3 separate regions of the Homo sapiens genome follow, and regions 2 and 3 are each linked to region 1. Evidence: promoter capture Hi-C in 16 types of primary human blood cells and fetal thymus (Javierre and others, 2016). All regions are on one chromosome and are shown on one strand. The core of a region is centred on a gene start or on the middle of the fragment in contact, and the rest is flanking DNA. Distances in the headings are between cores, read along the strand shown. Region 1 holds the start of KCP (kielin cysteine rich BMP regulator). Region 2 has its middle 8.4 kb from the start of SMO. Region 3 overlaps SMO (smoothened, frizzled class receptor).

Region 1 (4,672 bases), core at 88-2,587:
CCGTCCCACTACCCAGCCCCTCAGAGGACTTGCTTTCCAGAGGCACCCGGTCAATGAAAGCCACCTTCCTTAAACCTGCCAGGAATAGTGCTGCCGCTTCCTTGTTCCTCTTCTGGCTGGCTGGCCCTGGCTTTCCTCTGTGACCTCAGCTCCAGGCACTGAGGCCAGGTCTTAGCGTGGCATTGCAGCCTCCCTGCCCCCTGTGGCAAAGGCTCAGGTCCACTATGGGCCCAGACTCTGGGGCAGAGAAGCTGCCGTCTCCTTACTGAAGCTTTAAGCTTGGTGGAGAGTGGGCTGGGGAGACCTCAGTCCCTGCCTGGTCTAGGGGGAGGGGTGGCTTCCGACTTCTGGTCTTTATGACAGGGAGGGAGAGCTTTGGAAGGGTTCACAGCTCCGCCCTCAATGTTCCTTTTTGCCTGTGAGCTTCGCCTGTGAGACCCAACCCTCTGCTTCCCAGCTTCAAGGAGGAGTTTCCCAGCCTGTGGGCCCACAGGGACGGCTGTCCTCACTTCCTCCCTTTGGCCCCCTCTGCCTGCTGAGCCCAGGGCCCAGCCCTGCCCCCTACCCAGGCTCACCCCACAGCCAGGCCTGAGCTCAGGAGTGGGAAATGGGGCTGAGACCAGCCAGTGAAGGGCGGCCTTGGCATTTGGGGCCAAGCCTGGGACTGCTGGGGTGGGTAGGGGTGTTGAGTGGAGTTCAGGAAAGAAACTTATAGGGGAGAGAGGAAAACACTGGTCGTGTCCATGATTTCAGAGATCAGGAGTTCTTATTATTATTATTTGTTATTTACTGAGCATTTACCATCTCTCTACCGACTCTAAATTCTTTACTTATATAATCTCACTTAATGCTCACTGCAAGTCTATAAAGTAGATGTGGTGATCCCCAGTTTACAGATAGGGAAATTGAGGCACAGAGAAGTTAGTGGTCTAAGGCCACATGGAATTGGCTGAGCAGGGATCTAAACCCAGCTCAGTCTGCTTCTTCTGTAAACTTGTGAGAGAGAGGAAAAATCGATCTGGAAACCCTAGGGCGATGGAGTAACCTAAAAGGGCAGGGAGACTCTCTAGGATCCCGAGAGGGGTGGACTTGGGTTTATTTTCTTTTCAGGGTCTCCTCCTGGATCTTAAGCGGAGACAAGGCCTACACCCCCGTTGGGCTTCCTGCGAGCTGGAGCTGCTCTCTGGGGTCAGGACCGGCCGGGCCCGGGGCGGGTGGAGGTGTGCATGGGAAAGGCGCGCGCGGTGGGGGGTTTGAGCCCTCCCTGAACAAAGCCTGGGTGGGAGCGGCCTGTGTGTCCCCACCCCGCCTTCCCCAGCGCCTGCTGAGCCGCGACGACAGACGGCGAGCCGAGCGAGGCGGAGCTAGCATGGCCGGGGTCGGGGCCGCTGCGCTGTCCCTTCTCCTGCACCTCGGGGCCCTGGCGCTGGCCGCGGGCGCGGAAGGTGAGTCCAGGTGCGGGAGGCTTGGGGTCCGGCCAGGTGCGCCCCCTCCCTCCTATCAGCCCGGCCTGAGGGGGCCGAGAGGGGCTGGGGGCTCTGCTCTTAGCCCTGCCTGAGGTTCGCGCGCCTCCCTGGCCAGCTCCGTCCTCCCCGTCGGGGGAGCGAGCAGGGTGGGGAAGACCACGGCCAAAGCAGGGGGTTCAGGAGAGGGGGGCGGTTCCTGCAGCCGGCGGCGGGAGAGAGTGCGGCTGCCCTGGCATCTGGGAGTCTGAAGTTAATTATTTGTCTTGACGAAGGAGGGGGAGAAAAGGGGCCCGCTGTGGAAGCTGACTTTGCATCTGTGTCTGGCCCTCCCCGGAGCAGGACAGGCGGGAATGGAGGGCTCGGTGCCGGCACGGGGCCAGGGGAGGCTAAGAGGGGAACCCGGGACAATTCCTTGGGGACCAGCCAAGTTTGTGCCACTCGGAGCTCTTTCTGCAGGTCTCTCCAGGCGAGGCTGGCCCTAGCTTCACCTAGGGGTCCCAGAGGATTCAGCTTCTCCCGGGCTCCCATATCCTGCCTGCCTACTTAAGCAGAACTGGAGGAGTGGCCTGGGAGGAGGGGCCCTGGGCAGCAGGATGAGGCCCCACGGGAGTCTAGATTGGGTAGAAGGTTTCAGATGCTGAGACGCCCATCGTGGCCGCCCTCTGTGTGCTTGGGAAGGACTGAGACCGGGTGCCATTCCGGGTGACAGGATCCCCAGTAGAGGGACGGAGATGGGAAAGGGCACCTGGGGTTTGAGGGCCAGTATTCGCCCAGGGTGCGGGAACTGAGTTAGAATCCCTGATATAAGCCAGAAGTAGCGGGGCTGGAAAGGTGGGCGGTGCTTGTGATCCATCCCAGCGGGACTTGCTCCTGGGAGACTTCGGCTGTGTGATTCAGAAAGGTCGAGTGGAGAGAAGGGGCACAGATGGAGGCAGGGACGCTTTGTCTTCAGCCTTCTGAATGGAGATGGTGGAGAGAGGAGAAGGGGGGGATGTATTAGGGGACAACTCAGGCAACAAAATAGGGGAGCTGAGCCCCAGCTTTCTGGCTTAAGTAACTGGGTATGTGTGATGGCATTAACCAAGCCAGGGAACTTGGGACAAAGCAAGTTCAATTTTAGCCTAGAATCCCCTCTGCCTTTGATGGTGACAGTGGGTGACATTGTTCCCCTGTCTCACAGGCCTAGTGTCTGTGAGAAACCCTTTTAAGCCACTCCAGGCCTGGCCTCACTAATGAGCTGCCATGGTGGGAAAGACCCATCCCTCTCCCTCCTCCTCTCTCTGTTCCTATTGCCTCCGCTCCAGACCCTCAACTTCCCTGCCCATCCCTGCCTGGAGGAGGGACCTATGTCTGCCTCTTCCCCTCCTGCCTTTACTTTCTGGGCTGCAGGAGAAGGATCAAAGTGAAAAGGTGAAAGTGGCCGCCCCTAACCCCAGGCCAGAGCTCAGAGGTGCCCCGTCCCTCTTTCCTGGACATAGTGTCTTCTAGAAGCAGGGACAGGCTGTCTTCACTGGATCTGGTGTGTTCAAAGTTAGCAGGGGCCTTGCCAGCACATTTCTCACACCCTTCAGAAAATGCAGCCAAGTCCCACTTTTGAAGCCCACCCCACCCAATGTGGGAGCCCCCAGGAACCCCTGTCACAAGCCTGGAAAACCGTGCTCAGGGTTGGGGGCGGGAGCAGTTGTCCTTCCCTGAGCACATTCTCCAAAAGTTGTGGCCTTTCTGACAGGTGCAGAGAGTCAGGGGATGGGGGCTGCTCATGTTCTCCCTGAAAAGACTCTCAGCCAGACCCCAGACCCCTGAAAGCAGCTCCACCTGGCGCATGTCTGTGGCCTTCCCCTGCGTTTCAGCCTGTGCTGGCTTCCCGGCCCTGGATGGTGGGTGGGCAATTGGAGAGGGCAGGGTGCACAGGATGACCCCCTTCCCCTGTGGGTCAGAAGACAGAACCCAGAAAATGTGGCCAGGCCAGCCCCTCACCCTCAGGCCCACATGGGATTCTTGTGCCCTTCAGGTGGGGCTGTCCCCAGGGAGCCCCCTGGGCAGCAGACAACTGCCCATTCCTCAGTCCTTGCTGGGAACTCCCAGGAGCAGTGGCACCCCCTGCGAGAGTGGCTGGGGCGACTGGAGGCTGCAGTGATGGAGCTCAGAGAACAGGTACCATGGAGACAGTGCTGGTTTGCATTGGGTAAGGAGGGCTTCTCATAGTGGGAGGGAGAGAAGGAGTTAGGCTTGGAGGGGGGAGCCTAAAATAGAGCTCTTATCTGAACAATTCCCTTTCTTTCTTTCTTTCTTTCTTTCTTTCTTTCTTTCTTTCTTTCTTTCTTTCTTCTTTCTTTCTTCCTTTCTTCTTTCCTTCCCTCCTTCCTTTCTTTTTTTTTCTTTCTTTTCCTTCCTTCCTTCCTTCCATCCTTCTTCTCTCTTTCTCTCTCTCTCTTTCTTTTTTTTTTTTTTGAGATGGAGTCACCATGTGTCACCCAGGCTGGAGTGCAGTGGCACAATCTCAGCTCCCTGCAACCTCTGCCTCCTGGGTTCAAGTGATTCTTACGCTTCAGCCTCCTGAGTAGTTGGGACTACAAGTGTGCACCACCATACCCGGCTAATTTTTGTATTTTTAGTAGAGATAGGATTTCACCACGTTGGCCAGGCTGGTCTCGAACTCCTGACCTTAGGTGATCTGCCCGCCTCAGCCTCTCCAAGTGCTGGGATTACAGGTGTGAGCCACCAGGCCTGGCCAGAACAATTCTTAACATTGATTCTTTCATGCAAATGAAGAACCTCCAGGCTATTTGTTTTGTCAGTTCGTGTTTCGTACTGTTCCATGTATTTGGGGAATGTTATGGAATGCATTCTATATAAGGCATCATCAAAAATATTTTGGATGGGTAAAGATGTCTTTAATTCTTGGGGCAAGGGTTGGGTCCCCATTTTGTCCAAAGGAGAGATTGGGGCCCGTGCCCCCCTGAGAATGGTGATCGTTTGAGCTGGATGCTGACCGAGGGGGACCCATCTCTGCTCTGGAATTGGCGAACTTCTTTCTCATCCTGCCTCATTTTCACACCCCTCATCTCTACTGGAGATGGTGGGGGAAGCTGAGCCAGTGCCTGCTATTCCATCTCCTTCCTCCAGAATAAGGACCTGCAGACGAGGGTGAGGCAGCTGGAGTCCTGTGAGTGCCACCCTGCATCTCCCCAGTGCTGGGGGCTGGG
Region 2 (4,146 bases), core at 1,226-3,725, 270 kb before region 1:
AAAGCAAAAAGACAACCTTTAGAATGGGAGAAAATACTTATGAAACGTATGTCTGATGAGACATCATATCCAGAATATATAAGGAACTCCTGAAATTCAGTAACAATAAAAAGAGAAACAACCCAACTAAAAAGGGGGCAAAGACTTGAATAGACATCTTTCCAAAGAAGATACACAACTAGCTAATAAACACATGAAAAGATGCTCAACATCATTATCCATAAGGAAAATGCAAATCAAAACCATTGTGAGGTACCACTTCACATTTATTAGGATGATTATAGATTTTTTTTCTTTTTTGAGACAAAGTCTCACTCTGCCCCCAGCCTGGAGTGCAGTGGTGCAATCTTGGCTCACTGCACCCTTCGCCTCCCAGGTTCAAGCAATTCTCCTACCTCAGCCTCCTGAGTAGCTGGGATTCTAGGTGCGCGCCACCATGCCCGGCTAATTTTTTTTTTTTTTTAGTAGAGATGGAGTTTTCACTATGTTGGCCAGGCTGCTCTTGAACTCCTGACCTCAAGTGATCTGCCCACCTTGGTCTTCCAAAGTGTTGGGATTGCAGGCGTGAGCCACCATGCCCAGCCAGGATGATCATAATTAAAGCAAGCAGAGAAAATAACAAGTATTGGTGAAGATGTGGATATATTGGAACCCTCATGCATTACTGGTGGAAATGCACAATGGAGCAGCTGCTGTGGAGGACATTTTGGTGGTTTCTCAAAAGGCTAAACATAAAACTAACATGTGATCCAGCAATTCCACCCCTAGGTATATGTAATCTGAAAGAATTGAAAGTGGAGACTTGAAGAGATATTTGTACATCAATGTTCACAGCAGTATTACTCACAATAGCTAAAGGGTGGGAGTAACCCAAGTATCTATCAATGGATGAATGGATAAACAAAACGTGGTATATCTATAATAATGGAATATTACTAAGCCGTAAAAAGAATGAAATTTTGATATATGGATAACATGGATGGACCTTGAAAACAATATGTTTAGTGAAATAAGCCAGACACAAAAGAACAAATATTGTGTGATTCCACTGATTTCAGGTGCCCAGAACAGGCAAATTCATAGAAATAGAAAATAATAGAAGTTTCCAGGGGCTGGGGAAAGTGGTAAAAGGGAGTCTATTGTTTAACAGGTACAGAGTTTTTGTTGAGGATGATGAAAGAGTTTTGGCTATAGATGGTGATGGTTATGCAACATCATGAATATATTTAATGCCACTGAACTGTAAATTTACAAATACTTAAAATAATAAATATGGACGCCAGGCACGGTGGCTCATGCCTGTAATCCCAGCACTTTGGGAGGCCAAGGTGGGTGGATCATCTGAGGTCAGAGGTTTGAAACCAGCCTGGCCAATGTGGTCAAACCCCATATCTACTAAAAATACAAAAATTAGCCAGGCATGGTGGCATGTGCCTGTAGTCCCAGCCACTTGGAAGGCTGAGGCAGAAGAATCACTTGAACTCAGGAGGCAGAGGTTACAGTGAGCCGAGACAGAGCAAGACTCTGCCTCAAAAAATAGTAACAATAATAAATATTATGTTAGATATACTTTACTACAATTTTTTAAGAAAGAAAAAAGGGAAAAAACAAGTGTATTTTTACTTAGCTGTAAGGAGTCTAATGAAGATTAGTGCGAAGTAACATGGAAAAGCTTGGTTCTTACGTGCTTAAGAACTACTGGTTTCACTTACCTTTTCTTTCTTCTCCAACATCCATCTTATGGTACCATCTCAGTGGTTTCTGGAATTCCAACTAGTTGCCAACATTGTAGAAATGTGGCTGGTTTGGGAAAGGTAATCTTATCCCATACCAGTCTGTGACTGCAAACTGAGATATTAGGTTTCAGGTCTTTTCTGGGTAGTGACAGTTCTTTTTTTTTTTTTTTTTCAGATGGGGTCATATATTGCCTAGTCTGCTCTCAAGCTCTTTGGCTCAAATGATACCCCCTCACCACCTCAACCTTCAAAATTGCTGGGTCTACAGGTGCAAGGTCACTGTGCTGGCTGACAGTTCTGTTTTCATACTGAAGAATGTAGTTCTCTTCTCAGTAAATGGCACCACTGTTCACCCAGCTGCACGGGCCAAGATCCTTGGAGCCATATATGCCTCTTCTCTTTCTCTAACATCTCACACCGAGTCATCAGCAAATCCTGACAGCTACACCTTCAAAATATATCTAGACTCCAATTACTCCTTGTCCCCTTCACACTGCCACCCTCTTCTGAGCTACAGTCACTTGTCCTCTGGGCCACTCCAAGAGCTAACAGCTTTCCTGTTTCCCCTTACCCTCCTACAACCAATTCTGCATTCAGGCGCCAGGGTCATCCTTCTAAAATATGTCTGACTATATCGTTCTTGTGTTCAACACTCTGATGGCATTTCATCACACTTAGAGTAAAATTTCAATTTCTCATCAGGACTTCACCAACGTCCCGCTAACCCCTGGCAACCTCCTGGATCTCATTTGCTCACACCACCTTGAACATGCTGTCCTTTTTACTGATTAATGGGTACAGTTTTTGCTGTGTGTCCTTACACACACCAAGCAAGCACTTGCCTCAGGATCTTGGCACTCAGGCTTATTCTTATGTTCTCATTTAGGTCCATTCAAATACCCTTTCTCAAGAAGGCATTCCTAACAAACTGCTCCAAAGAAAATGAAATACTTGACTGGGCACAATGGCTCATGCCTGTAATCTCAGCACTTTGGGAGGCCGAGGTGGGTGGATAACCTGAGGTCAGGAGTGCAAGACCAGCCTGGCTAACATGGTAAAACCCCATCTCTACAAAAATACAAAAATTAGCTGGGCATGATAGCAGGTGCCTGTAATCCCAGCTACTGGGGAGGCTGAGGTAGGAGAATCACTTGGACCCAGGAGGCAGAGGTTGCAGTGAGCCGAGATCATGCCATTGCACTCCAGCCTGGGCAAAAGAGTGAAACTTGTCTCAAAAAAAAAAAAAAAAGAAAGAAAGAAAGAAAGAAAGAAAAAAAAATGAAATACTTAAGTACAAATCTAACAAAATTTATAAAGAATCTATATGATGAAAATTATAAAATGGGGATGAAAGAAATCAAAGGCAACCTAAATCCTTGGAGAGGCATACTATGTTCATGAATCAAAAGATCAAACATAGCAAAGATGTCACTTTCCCCTAGGTTGATTCCCTAAGCCTCTAGGTTTAACAAAATTCCTATCAAAATCTCAAGTTTTGAGAAAGAAAGAAAACAAGTTTCTCTGTAGACATAGACAAGCTTATTCCAAAACTAATATGGAAAGTGAAAGGCCTTGCTCAATTTTTGACAAAGATTAAAGTGGGAGGAATCGCTGGCTGATATTAAGGCTGACTATATAGTTACAGCAATCAAGACAATGTGGTACTGGTAGAAAGATAGACACATAGATCAATGTAGCAGAATAGAGAACCCAGAAATATGCCCACATATATGGCCAATTAGTTTTTGACAAAGCAGCAAAAGCAGTTCAATGGTGGAGGAGAACTTTTTCAATAAATGGTGCTAGAGCAATTACATATCCATATGCAAAAAAATAAAAATAAAATAAAACTCTATGTAAACCTCACACACCTTAAACAAAAATTAACTCAAAACAAATCATGCACTTAAATGTAAATATAAAACTTCTAAAAAACACATAGAAAATCTTCAGGACTCATACCAGGCAAAGAGTTCTTAGACTTGATACCAAAAGCACAACCCAGAGCCAGGCACAGTGATGCACACCTGTAGTCCCAGCTACCAGAAGGCTGAAGCAGGAGGATTACTTGAGCTCAGGAGTTCAAGGCTGCAGTGCTCCATTATTGCAGCTGTGAACAGCCACTGCACTCCAGCCTGGGCAACATAGACCTTATCTCTAAAGAAGTTAAATAAAAGTAAAATAAAAAATAAAAAGCAAAACCGGAAGAGGAAAAATTGACAAATTGTATCTCATCAGAATCTGAAACTTTTGCTCTGCAAAAGACACTGTTAAAAGAATAAAAAGACAAATTAAATACTGGGAGAAGATATTTGTAAATTGCATGTCCAAAAAAAGCCTTGTATCTAGAACACGCAAAGAACTTGAAAACAGTACTTAAAAAAACAAACAATCCAATTAGAAAACGGGA
Region 3 (4,839 bases), core at 894-3,393, 300 kb before region 1:
GGAGCAAGGCTCATTCTCAAAATAAATAAATAAATAAATAAATAAATAAATAAATAAACAAACAAAAATTAGCTGGGCATGGTGGCACACGTCTGTAATCCCAGCTACTCGGGAGGCTGAGGCAGGAGAAATTCTTGAACCCAGGAGGCGGAGGTTGCAGTGAGCTGAGATTGTGCCACTGCACTCCAGCCTGGGCAATAGAGTGAAACTCTATTTCAACAACAAAAAAGAGTACTCCCCAAACAAGCCTGGTCTGTACTCCACAATACCCGCCAGGTCTGTGGGCACCAGCCCCTTTGCTACACAGACCTCCTTCTCTCATAATCCTGAGCCCTTGCACCCCAGTTCCCAGTCTTCTACTGATTATCTCATTGGAGGAAGTGGGGCTAACAGGCTTCCCTGACTGGCCAGGGGAGGAAGCTGTGGATCAGAATGCGTCTAGCCCAATGGACGTCCCTGGTAGAAGAAAGAGGCCCCCAGAGATGAGGTCCAGGAATGCCTCGAGGAGTCCTGCCCATCTCCACTCCCATCAGGCAGACACCATCACCCCAGGGGAAGCTGCATGCCTGTGCTCAATTATCTTGTGATCACTGCTCCGCGAGGCAGCCGTGGTCACAGAAGAGCTTTTGTTCATATAGAGCCGACTGGCTCAGGTGGACAGCCAGCACATGAGGGCGCCATCAGCCTGACATCTGACTGTCAGCCGTGGCCACATTAGCACAAAGCTCTTGGCCTTTCAGAGCACCCTCGGGAAGATGGGGAAGACCAAAAAGATTGGGACCAAGACAAGGTAAGGAGGCCAGGATCGGAGCCCATAGAAGAAAGAACGCACTAGCTGGGCGCGGTGGCTCACGCCTGTAATCCCAGCCCTTTGGAGCCCGAGGCGGGTGGATCACTTGAGGTCAGGAGTTCGAGACCAGCCTGGCCAACATGGTGAAACCCCCTCTTTACTAAAAATACAAAAATTAGCTGGGTGTGGTGGCAGGCACCTGTAATCCCAGCTACTCAGGAGGCTGAGGCAGAATTGCTTGAACCCAGGAGACGGAGGTTGCAGTGAGCCAATATCATGTCACTGCACTCCAGCCTGGGGGATAGAGTGAGACTTTTATCTCAATTAAAAAAAAAAAAAAGAGAGAGAAAGAAAAAGAAAAAAAAAAGGAAAAACACACCAAGAGTTTATACAAAAACCTTTTATTGACTGTATTTCTTCTCCCCATAACCTGGAACCCAGCCAGCATCTATGGCTTCCTGCTGTCTGATTCTTGAAAGTGGGGCCTTGGGAACATGTTTGGAGGCTATGGAAGGTGGGAATCTCCTCACCCACCGGCTATGCAGGTTGAAGGAAGCTTTCTTGCCTGGCTGAAGCTACGGCAGCTTCCCAGGGTAGCCCCTCAAGTCTAGAGGACCCATCCCCCACTAAATGGGTGTGAGGAAGAGATGATGCATCTTTCAGAGGCTTTGTCACTCACTGCTCCTATCCCACTCCAGACTGAGGCCCTAGAGCTGAACCAGTCTCTCCTGTGGAGATGGGGCCCAGCAGCGAGGGGAGGGGGTTAGAGGTGAGTGTGTGCAGCAGCTCTGGGTCCTCATCAACAAAAAGGAAACGCAAAGAGGTTGGCACCGCTGAAACTGAACTGAAATGGAACAGAAGAAGGAGGATATAGGAGAACAAAAGATGGGTTTGGGGTAGTGCCACCTATTAAGAGAGGACATGGCCCCTGTGGGAGCAGGTCCTTCCAGCCCCACAAACACCTGGGAGAGGAATACGGTGCCCTGGCCCTACTTAGACAAAGGACTAATGACACAGTCAACACTTTTGGACTGAGACTGCCAGGAAAGGGCACCCATCAGCCCAGAAAACGGCAGCCAGCCCTCATCTGCCAGACATAGGCTAGGCTGCCTCCCTGGCCACCAAAGCCCACTCTGGGAACTGTCACCTCTGCCTCCACCGTTCCTGCCCCACCACAAGCTCTGCATACCCCCTGCCCCGATGGAGCAGATGCTGCCAACCAGGCTGCAGCTGGCAGGGCAGAAACAAGGACCCTGAGCTCCAGGGCCCTGTCCCTGGGGTGAGGCCTCCCCATGGAGATGTTAGGCTCTTTCCCACAGTCCTGCTGCTTTGAGCCAGACATCCAGAACTCTCTTCGGAGGGCAGTCAGCCCACAGGTTCTCTGGAAGACGGGATCCTAGGGAAGCATGCTCGGTGAGGAAGAAGAGCCTTGAAGGTATTGGTTCCTCTCTTTCCTGTCCCAGGTCCTGCTCTGCAGGCTCAGAAGTCCGAGTCTGCATCCATGAGTTCTGTGTCCATCAGGTTGGTGCGGGAGTGAATAGGCCCCAGGCCCTGTCGGCGGCCATGAGCCCATGCCACGGGGGCCGGTGCACTGGGCAGAAATGGATCCTGAGGGGGACTGGGCTCTGGGCAGAATGGGTTGGAGACCAGGGTCCACGCTCCCTGTCGGCAAGAGTCCCCAGCTCCCCAGGCACCTGCAGCCACCAGGCATTTCTGCCGGGGCAGCTGAGGCAGTCGAGGAATGGTACTGGGGGCAGGGGCAGGGGGGTGAAGCTCAGGGGGCGGCGCCAGCGGGCACACCTCCTTCTTCCTCTTCCTCCTCTTCTTCTTCCGGCCCAGGCGCTTCTGCAGCTCTGGGGAGATCTCTGCCTCAACCAGCCACAGGTTGGCTTGTTCCTCTGGGGGCACTGACAGGAGGAGAGACAACACGAGCCTGGGGCCCTGGCTCTGTCCATGCCACCCCCGCTCCCCTGGGAGCACTTAACCTGTTAGTTCTGGGGCCCAGGTCTCTAGACTCTTAGAGCCTCAGCCCCACTCTTCAGATCCTCTGGGGCCTTTCCTTCCTCTTCCTCCTCCTCCGACAGCCCCTGTACTCCAGTCCCAGAAGCCCCCAGCCTCTGTGCTCCCCCCACCTTCCTCCAGAAGCTTGAACTCTCATACCTGGAGTTGCCACAGGGGTGACAGAAATATCCTGGGGCAGTATGGCTCCTCTCCGAGCCACCATCTTGGTGACATGCTGGGCCCAGGCAGAGGAGACATCAGCTGAGGGCTCATTGAGGTCAAAGGCCAAGCCCGCTGTGGGAATGGAAGGAAGGAAAGGAGAAGGAATAGTGACTTCCCGGTCCCTGGCAGTGCCTCCCATAGTCAGTGCCATTCATCTTCCCACAGCCAGTCCCTCCTGCTCACCAGAGAAAGCTCACCCTGTAACCACGGTGATCTCTACCCCTTCAGAATCTGAAGAGAAGGGCCTCACGTCCCCAAAGGGCCTAACTGGAGGCCAGAAATCCAGTTCTTGGAACCCTGACTTACTCTTGCCCAGGGAGAGCAACTGGAGAATTTATGAGAAGGGAGAGGGAGGGGAGTCTTCTTGGAACCCAAGCACCGGCAAGCAGACCCAGGGGCAGAAACAGAGAGGGGAGAGCCCCCCAGAGGGTAGGAGGGGCCGGGGGAAGAATGGGTGTGTGAGCGATGGAGGGAGCGCCTTGCTCCTCACAGTCGGTCTTCCAAATAATCTGTGTGCCCCCAGCAGGCTGGGAGAGACTAGCACATGGGCAGCGCGGGGCCAGGCGGCTCCGGTAGAGGAGGGGTGAGGCTCACCCACGGGCCCGTCGTGGGACACAGTGTGCATGCTGAAGGACAGCTCCTGGCCTGGGTTCTGCAGGAGCTCGTGCCGCTTAGAGAAGGCCTTGGCAATCATCTTGCTCTTCTTGATCCGCTTTGGCTCATCGTCACTCTGCCCAGTCAACCTGAGAGCAGAAGGGATAGGGAAGGAGCGTGAAGAAGCTGCCACTTCCCATCAAATCTTGGGAAGGGCCAGCGATGCCATTCTTTCCAGAGAAGGAGGCTCCCAAGGGCCTCAAGTCCTTCAAGGACTCAGGAGTAGAGGCCTTCTCTGCAAAGAAGTGGGGCCAGAATGCAGAGCTCCTGTGTGCCCAGCCCTCCAATCACTCCGCTCTTAAAAGGTGATGGCAGCTGGCTCTGCCCTTGGCCCAGGCCCAGGCCCAGGCATCAGGCCACCCAAGGACAGAAGGTGCCACCAGGGGGCAGCGGTGAACCACTGACCAAGGCTGTGCTAGAGGCAGGACCCGACAAAACCTAAAGATGGGGTCCCAAGGCTGAGGGTGAGGCGGGCAGGGCAGGAGGGGCTGGCTGCCATGCCCACCTGCACCAGGTACGCCTCCAGATGAGCAGCGTGGCCTTGGTCCAGACCCAGGTGCTCATGGCGATGCCAGTTCCAAACATGGCAAACAGGTTGATCTTCTCCACCAGAAGGCTCGGGCGATTCTTGATCTCACAGTCAGGGATGGGCTGCTTGGTGGGCAGCCCGATGGTCACATTGGCCTGACATCTACAGTGAGGGAACGTAGACAGGTGAGGCTTTCCTTTCTTTTCCTCTCTCTTTTTTTGAGATAGGATCTTGCTCTGTCACCCAGGCTAGAGTGCGGTGGCGTGATCACAACCCACTGCAGCTTCCAACTCCTGGGCTCAGGCAATCTCCTGCTTCAGCCTCCCAAGTAGCTGGGACTACAGGTGGGGTTTTCTGAGTCTACTGGGTAGACTCAGACAATCAATCCAAAAACTTTAGAAAGGGCTAAGCTCCACAGCACTGATCTCAACCCTGGGTGCTCATTAGAATCAACTGGGGAGCTTTTAATAGCTACTGATGCCTGGGACCCACCCTAGACAATTAAATTGAATCTCTGGGGCAGAGACTCAGGCATCACTGTGGTTTAAAGCATCCCAGACTGGAAGCCGGAACCTTTACGGAAGAGCCTGAAGCAGTCAGGGCTTGGACTAGCATCCATTTTAGCGACTGTCCTTGTAACAGT

The links. Contacts are between HindIII fragments. The CHiCAGO score rates a contact against its expected background, and 5 or more counts as called.
Region 2: a fragment that was not itself captured here is called in contact with the fragment with the promoter of KCP in region 1 in 1 of 17 cell types (naive B cells); the score reaches 5.0 in naive B cells.
Region 3: a fragment that was not itself captured here is called in contact with the fragment with the promoter of KCP in region 1 in 1 of 17 cell types (naive B cells); the score reaches 5.4 in naive B cells.

Annotation. Positions count from the first base shown.
Region 1 is chr7:128,907,374-128,912,045 of GRCh38, reverse strand. KCP (kielin cysteine rich BMP regulator) reads left to right here and starts at 1,337. Exons shown (of 40, transcript NM_001366122.1): 1 at 1,337-1,445; 2 at 3,478-3,620; 3 at 4,593-4,672. The coding sequence starts at 1,370. The HindIII fragment of the contact is 11,148 bases long and covers 281-4,672 here.
Region 2 is chr7:129,178,118-129,182,263 of GRCh38, reverse strand. No RefSeq gene overlaps it. Among named protein-coding and RNA genes, the nearest start is that of SMO, 8.4 kb to the left of the region's middle. The HindIII fragment of the contact is 1,602 bases long and covers 1,675-3,276 here.
Region 3 is chr7:129,209,882-129,214,720 of GRCh38, reverse strand. SMO (smoothened, frizzled class receptor) reads right to left here. Exons shown (of 12, transcript NM_005631.5): 9 at 4,173-4,358; 10 at 3,608-3,756; 11 at 2,951-3,085; 12 at 1,176-2,697. The coding sequence ends at 2,270. Among named protein-coding and RNA genes, the nearest start is that of AHCYL2, 13 kb to the left of the region's middle. The HindIII fragment of the contact is 1,589 bases long and covers 1,349-2,937 here.